2 separate regions of the Homo sapiens genome follow, and region 2 is linked to region 1. The links are contacts of gene promoters, found by promoter capture Hi-C in blood cells and fetal thymus (Javierre and others, 2016). All regions are on one chromosome and are shown on one strand. The core of a region is centred on a gene start or on the middle of the fragment in contact, and the rest is flanking DNA. Distances in the headings are between cores, read along the strand shown.

Region 1 (3,642 bases), core at 656-3,155:
CTGAAGTGCAGTGATGTGATCATAACTCATTACAGCCTCAACCTCCCCAGCTCAAGCTATTCTCCTGTCTCAGCCTCCCGAGTAGCTGGGACTACAGGTGAGTGTCACCATGCCTAGCTAATTTTTGTCATTTTTTTGTAGCGACAGAGTTTTGCCATGTTGCCAGAGCTAGTCTCAAACTCTGAGCTCAAGCGAGCCACTCACCTCAGCCTCCCAAAGCGCTGGGACTACAGGCATGAACCACCACTCCCAGCCCCTTTGCACATTTATAAATTGTGTTCTTTTTGGTTTTGTTTTGTTTTAAATTCGGTTTATCTTTTTGTTGTTGGGTTCCTTTCACAATAAGTTAACTTTTGTCAACTGAAAAATAAAAATAAAATTCTATGCCCCCCAACTGACTGAACAGGCCCTCTCTTGGCCAAGGAGACCCTAGAAAAAACTTGGAAGCTGAGTTCCTACTCATGACAGGATGGGAAGTCGGACACACCTCTTTATAACCCCTCCCTCTATAATCGCCATTAGATTTTCTTTCCTAAGGGTTAAACAGAAACCAGCCCTTTTGAAAGACTCACTCCACCAGCCTGATGCTGACCCTCCCATTTGCAGTTTCAATAGAACAACCGACTAGCATTCCTTCCTGATAAGAGATCACCCACCATCCAGGGAGTGGTTCTGGCCAGTCGACAGAGGACGTGCAGTGAGGGTTTTCACATCCCCTGCTTCACCTTTTGAAGTCAAGCGGTAGAAAACTCTACCCTTGGATCATGCTAAGGCCACCATTTTTTAAACATGGGATCCACAGAGAGGCATGAAGCTCAACTGCACATGCACAAATTGCTCCTTTCATAAATATTCGTGACCCCTCTTACAGTTTATTTAACATGTATATTTGGCCACTGTGTTTAGCATAAATCCCTGTCTTATTCTTCCAACCCTGGAAGTGCCTGTTTTTGGCTTCTGACTGGAAGCTAGGCTTCCCAGTCTGTCAAAATGGCTACCATGCAGGTTCAACTCTTTTTTTTTTTTTTTTTTTTTTTTTTTGAGATGATGTCTTGCTCCCAGACTGGAGTGCAGTGGCACAATCTTGGCTCTCTGCAACCTCTGCCTCCTGGGTAAGCAACTCTTCTGCTTCATCTTCCCAAGTAGCTAGGACTACAGGTGCAGGCCACCACATCCAGCTAACTTTTGTATTTTTAGTAGAGATGGAGTTTCACCATGTTGGCCAGCCTGGCCTCAAACTCCTGACCTCAAGTGATCCACCCGCCTCAGCCTCCCAAAGTGCTGGGATTACAGGCATGAGCCACTGTGCCCGGCCAGGTTCAACCCTTTATGAGAAATAAAGTTCATCTGATTGGGCACAGTGGCTCATGCCTGTAATCCCAGCACTTTAGGAGGGCTAGACAGAAGAATCACTTGAACCCAGATGTTCGAGACCAGCTTAGGCAACATAGTGAGCCCCACTATTTCTATTTTTTTTAAACTAAAGAAAAATATGAAGTAAACAGTGCTAAAATAGTGATGGCAATACAGAAATCAGGAACTAGTGGCATGACATTTTGAGAAAGATATTTAAATAAGCTGGAGAGACTCGGTGTCTCCAGCTTTAAAACAGAAATCAGTCTCTGCCACTTCATAGGTGCTAGAACAAAAGAGACTTGTTCCAAATGAGATGACGCATGTGAAGCGCTTACCCAGTGCTCGGCAAGGGGAAGCACTCTCTAAACGTTAGCAAATACCATGGTAGGACACAAGGCCCCTGACTCTCCGCTTTCAGCTTACTGAAGATCCTCAAAACCAACAGCACACAGCTTCCAGCGCATGCTCCTTTCCCCAAGACCTTGTGGGGGAACCCGCCGCCAGCGCGGAGCCACCGTGACTCGTAGCCTGACTTCCGTTTCCGGGGGCGGCTTCCGGCGGCGTGACCTGACCGCAAGAGGCCAATGGAGTGTGGGAGCTGAAAGGGTCTTCGCTGGCGGCCGGTAACTGGCGGCGGTTGGGAACGGCCGAGTGTGGCTCTTCTGGTGTTTCAGCTTGGGGAGAGAGGGGTGGCCTTCCTCTTGCAGTTGAGGCCGGCGCCGAGCCGGACTTCAGGCGGATCTCGTGGCGGAGCCCATCTTGCTCCCTCTCCCAGGCCTTTACCCGCTCCCTAGGATTCCCGGGCCCTGTAGGTGGGAGTTGGGAGACGTGAGTTCTCTTTCATTCTGCGCCTCTCATTGGCTCTCTGACCTTGTGCGGAACGCGTCCTTTAGCTGACCTCAGCTGCATTTTTTAGAAGATGGAGATTGTATTCACAGTGACTGTCAGCTTTTTAACGGCGGGAACTGACGTAGTGTTAAACACTGTCGTGTATCGCTGGCACAGCACAAGGACATTATAGGTATTCTGTACTCAATTAAGTTATTTTGAGTCACAGACCTTTTGAAAATCTCGTGTAAGCTATGGCCCCTCCACCTCTCTAATACTTCCCCCGGCCCCCACCCCAAGCACACACAAAAGCTTATGCATAGGAAATTTGTTTTACTATTTCGGATTACTTCCAAGATCTCTCTCCTGATGCCCATCTATGGATCCCAGAGTCTGGCAAGTAGTAGGCGTTTGAACATTTGTAATCATTAGATAGTAAGTATTCAGTTAACCATTTTTATTTTTAATTTTTTCTTTTTTTTTTTTTTTTTTTTTGAGACAGGGCCTCACTGTGTCACCCAGGCTGGAGTGCAGTCCTCCCACCTCAGCCTCCCAAGTAGCTGGACTCCAGGCGCCCACCACCACGCCCAGCTATTTTTTGTGTTTTTGGTAGAGATGAGATTTTGCCATCTTACGCAGATTGGTCTCGAACTCTTGGCCTCAAGCAATCTACTCACCTCAGCTCCCTAAAGTGCTGGGATTACAGGCATGAGCCAGTGTGCCCAGCCCAGTTAATCATTTTTAAATGCATGAAATGCTATTTCACAGGAGGGAAGAAGATAGATAGCCTATTAATAAGTTTTAATTATTGGCCTAACCAGGTACTACTCTCACTTGTCTCCTAACGACTCTAGGAAAGAGGTATTACTAATTACTTAATTACATTTGAAGGTTTGGGAGAATTAATTTGCCATAAGTCATTCAACCTATGATGGTGGAGGCAAGAATTCAAACCTGTATCTATCTGAAACTCCAAAAGCCCCATATTATTATTATTATTATTATTTATTTTATTTATTTATTTATTTTTTTGAGACAGAGTCTTGTTCTGTTACCCCAGCCGGAGTGCAGTGGCATGATCTCAGCTCACTGCAATCTCCACCTCCCGGATTCAAGCAATTCTCCTCCCTCAGCCTCCCAAGTAGCTGGGATTACAGGCTCCCACCACCACACCTGGCTAATGTTTGTATTTTTAGTAGAGACGGGGTTTCACCATGTGGGCCAGGCTGGTCTTGAACTCCTGACCTCAGGCAATCTGCCCGCCTCGGCCTCCCAAAGTGCTGGGATTACAGGTGTGAGCCACCACGCCCAGCCAAGCCCTATATTCTTAACTAACCATGTTCTTAACATCTAGATGCAGAAATGGATTTGAATGTGATCTGCAGTTTCTGTCGTAGTTATGAAATGGCTTTTGTCAACATGGGTTACCCCAAAGCAAACATTGCATGCTATGGAAAT
Region 2 (3,642 bases), core at 497-2,996, 530 kb after region 1:
GTAGAGACGGGAGTCTCACTATGTTGCCCAGGCTGATCTCCTGCCTTGGCCTCCCAAAGTGCTGAGATTACAGGCTTGAGGCACTGTGCCCCCACCTAGACCTATCTTTTAAAAATGCAAAACTGTGTCATTTTCCTGGTTAAACCTTTTAGTGGTTCCCCAAACCCCCTGGGATAAAGACTTAACTCTTTACTGAACCCTCCAAATGCTCCAGTCACTCTTAAGTTTCTCAGTTCTTTGAAGAGCCAAGTGCTCTCTGGATTTGGGGCCTTCACACATGCTGTTCCCTCTGCCTGAAAAGCTCTTCCGCTCCCCACCTCTTTAGCCAATTCCCACTCAGGCTTCAGACCTCAGCTCAATTGCTGCCACTCCAGAGAGACTTTCCTAACCCTCCAGGTCAGGGAGAGAGGCCTCATTTTTCCTCCCTCAGCCTCCTGTGTTTTCTTGAATTTCTTAGCTTCATGGGTACAAGTTCTTCCCCCGACTGGGCTGGGATCCCTCAGGGGAAATGGACCATGTTTATTTCTGCGTCCCCAGGTCATAGCAGAGCATCCTGGTGCATGGAAGATGCTCACTATACATGCTTTTTTCTTTCTTTTTTTCTTTATTCGGATAATATAACTTCTTTCTTTAAAGTTTCGCTTAGTATTTTGTTGTGGTAAAATGCACATAACATAAAACTTACTATGTTAATCATTTTTAAGTGTACAGTTTCCGTGGCATTAAGCACACACATATAGTTGTGCAATCAGTACCACCATCCATCTCCAGAACTTTTTTCATCTTCCCGAACTGAAGCTCTGTACCCATTAAACACTAGCTCCCCATTCTCTGTCCACCCCTCGAGCTTCTGGCAATGGTCATTCTACTTTGTCTCTACAGATAAAGTTTATTTGGAAATAATTTTTCTTTCATGGCCTTGACATTTTTGAAGAGTACAGTCCAGCTCTCTTCTAGACTGTCCCTCCGTCTGGATTTATGTCATTTCTTCATGATTAGATTCAGTTAGGTATTTTTGGCAGAAACATCATAGAAGTGATGCTGTGTCCTCAGTCTATTAAAAGAGGCACAAGATATCAGTTTATCTCATTATTGATCAAATTAACTGACTATATGTTTAAGGGAGACAAGCCAGATTTCCTCACTGAGAGATTCCCTGTTTCTCTTTGCAATAATTAAATGTGAGAAACTTATTTTGAGACAAAGTCTCACTCTGCACTCTGTCCCCCAGGCTGGAGTGCATTGGCACAATCTCGACTTACTGCAACCTCTGCCTCCCTGGTTCAAGCGATTCTCCTGCCTCAGCCACCCAAGTAGCTGGGGTCACAGGAACCCACCACACCTGGCTAATTTTTGTATTTTTAGTAGAGACGGGATTTCACCATGTTGCCCAGGCTGGTCTTGAACTCCTGACATCAAGTGATCCACCCACCTCGGCCTCCCAAAGTGCTGGGATTAAAGGTGTGAGGCTGTGTGAATGATGTGTGCTCCAGGGAAAGTCATAGAATATATCAGTTTCCCCCTCTGTAAAGTGTGGACAGAAGTATCCTAACTGATATTACAGCTTAAGAAAGTAAAAGTGTTCAAGCGGCCTCTGGGCGCCAGCAAAAGAGGCTGGGGATTAATTTCCTGCGCGCTCCACAAGAGGCGGGGCTGGGCGGGGCGGGGGCGAGAGGGAACGAGGGCGCCTGCGCGGAGAGGAGTGACCATAGAGTCGGTCCTCCAGAGACAGAGGGGCCGGAAGTTCTCTTCACGGAGCCGCGCGGCTGCGGGGGCGCAAATAGGGTCAGTGGGCCGCTTGGCGGTGTCGTTGCGGTACCAGGTCCGCGTGAGGGGTTCGGGGGTTCTGGGCAGGCACAATGGCGTCTCGAGCAGGCCCGCGAGCGGCCGGCACCGACGGCAGCGACTTTCAGCACCGGGAGCGCGTCGCCATGCACTACCAGATGAGGTATGAAGTGAGGCGAGGAGCACGGAGGCTTTCTCCCCCGCTGGAGCCTGCGGGGCTTGGGGAGCGACGCCGGCCCGGCCTCAGGGTCTTGCTCCCCAGCCAGCCCCCGCTCACCTGCCAAGTCCCCTCCTCCCGTGACGGCTTCGGGCCTGTCCCCCATCCTGGAAAGCCCCGTGGCCCCCGCGAGCTCCACCCCTTGTTCCGCCCGGTGCCTTGAGGGGATCCAGCCCCGCGTGGGCTCCCGCCCTGCGTGGGCTCCCGAGTCACGTCGATGCTGGCCCCGCTGTATCACCTTCGAAACCGAATTTCTAATTTGAGCCTCAGCTTCCTCATCTGTAGAGGGAGAGAATAATCTGCCTTTTAGGTTTTGGTGAAAGATTAATCAGTAATTCGTGTAAAGAAAGTAGCATAAGGCCTACCACGTAATATATGGTAGGTGTTATATTTTGGGCCGTTTGGGGGGATATAGACAGTAAAAGGCAGCCTTTCCTAAGGACGCCTTGCCTAAAATGAATTTTATAAACACTCCCACGTAAGGGGTATTTCTACATTCAATTACTAGTTCGACAAATACTGAGCTTCCAAACATCATACACTGCTAGACACTAGGTTATAATAGTGAGCAAAAGCAGACGTGGTCTTTGTATACATGTTATACCTTCAATAAACAATTTTATTAAAGAAAAAAAAAACTGTTCCCTGCCTTCATGGAGCTTGAAGTCTAGAGATGACTGTTTTTTTTTTCCAACCTTTCCACATTTTCTACAATAAATATTTTTAAATAAAAATTTTAAAATTTTTACTTCCTTAAATCCATTGATCTCTCCCAGAATGTTCTTCACATCTCTCTCTCCAGAGTTTTAAAGAATGACAAGCTCTTTGAACTCTCATTTGTTTCACATCTCTAGGCCCCGGCTGAAAGGGCCCTCACAACTTAAGCAGGTGTTTTCATGCCAGCCCAGAGTAGAAACATTGCCTTTAGGGATATGAGGAGGATACGTTTGGGACGTGAGAGAATTAGAAGAATAAGATAAGTATGTACTTCTTTTGGATGAAAAAATCTAGCTGGAGAAGTATGGGCGGCCTGAGTACGTTTCCTCTCTGCCAATACCTTCTCCCGCCAGACTTTAATCCTATGGTGCAGTCAGCGTCCTCTTGCTAAACACAGCTCTGAGCTACCCTTCTGCCTTTATTATTATTATTAATTTATTTATTTATTTTTGAGACGGAGTCACGGTCTGTCGCCCAGGCTGGAGTGCAGTGGCGCGATCTCAGCTCACTTGTAAGCTCCGCCTCCCGGGTTCACGCCATTCTCAGCCTCAGCCTCCCGAGTAGCTGGGACTACAGGCGCCCGCCACCACGTGCTGCTAATTTTTTTGTATTTTTAGTAGAGACAGGGTTTCACCGTGTCAGCCAGGATGGTCTCGATCTCCTGACCTCGTGATCTGCCCGCCTCGGCCTCCCAAAGTGCTGGGATTACAGGCGTGAGCCACCGCGCCCAGCCCTGCCTTTTTATTAGTAGTATTGTTGTTGTTTTTTTTTTTTATGGAGATGGGGTCTCATTTTGTTGCCAGGCTGGTCTCGAACTCCTGGGCTCAAGCAGTCCTCCTGCTTCAGCCTACCAAAGTGCTTGGATTAGAGTTGTGAGCCCAGCCTCTTCTACTTTTAACTCTCATAGTCTTTGTGATTCATAT

What was found. The method cuts DNA at HindIII sites, captures the fragments that hold promoters and counts their contacts. A CHiCAGO score of 5 or more calls a contact.
Region 2: a contact is called between the fragment with the promoter of JAGN1 here and the fragment with the promoter of THUMPD3 in region 1, in 1 of 17 cell types (neutrophils). The highest score is 5.3, in neutrophils.

What each region holds. Positions count from the first base shown.
Region 1 is chr3:9,361,149-9,364,790 of GRCh38, forward strand. It overlaps THUMPD3 (THUMP domain 3 tRNA guanosine methyltransferase), which reads left to right and starts at 1,906. Exons shown (of 10, transcript NM_001114092.2): 1 at 1,906-1,979. It also overlaps a transcript of SRGAP3 not described here. RefSeq lists enhancers at 1,636-1,845, 2,066-2,125, 2,196-2,275, 2,296-2,355. The HindIII fragment of the contact is 4,632 bases long and covers 1-2,494 here.
Region 2 is chr3:9,888,864-9,892,505 of GRCh38, forward strand. It overlaps JAGN1 (jagunal vesicle mediated transporter 1), which reads left to right and starts at 1,747. Exons shown (of 2, transcript NM_032492.4): 1 at 1,747-1,948. The coding sequence starts at 1,860. The HindIII fragment of the contact is 18,772 bases long and covers 1-3,642 here.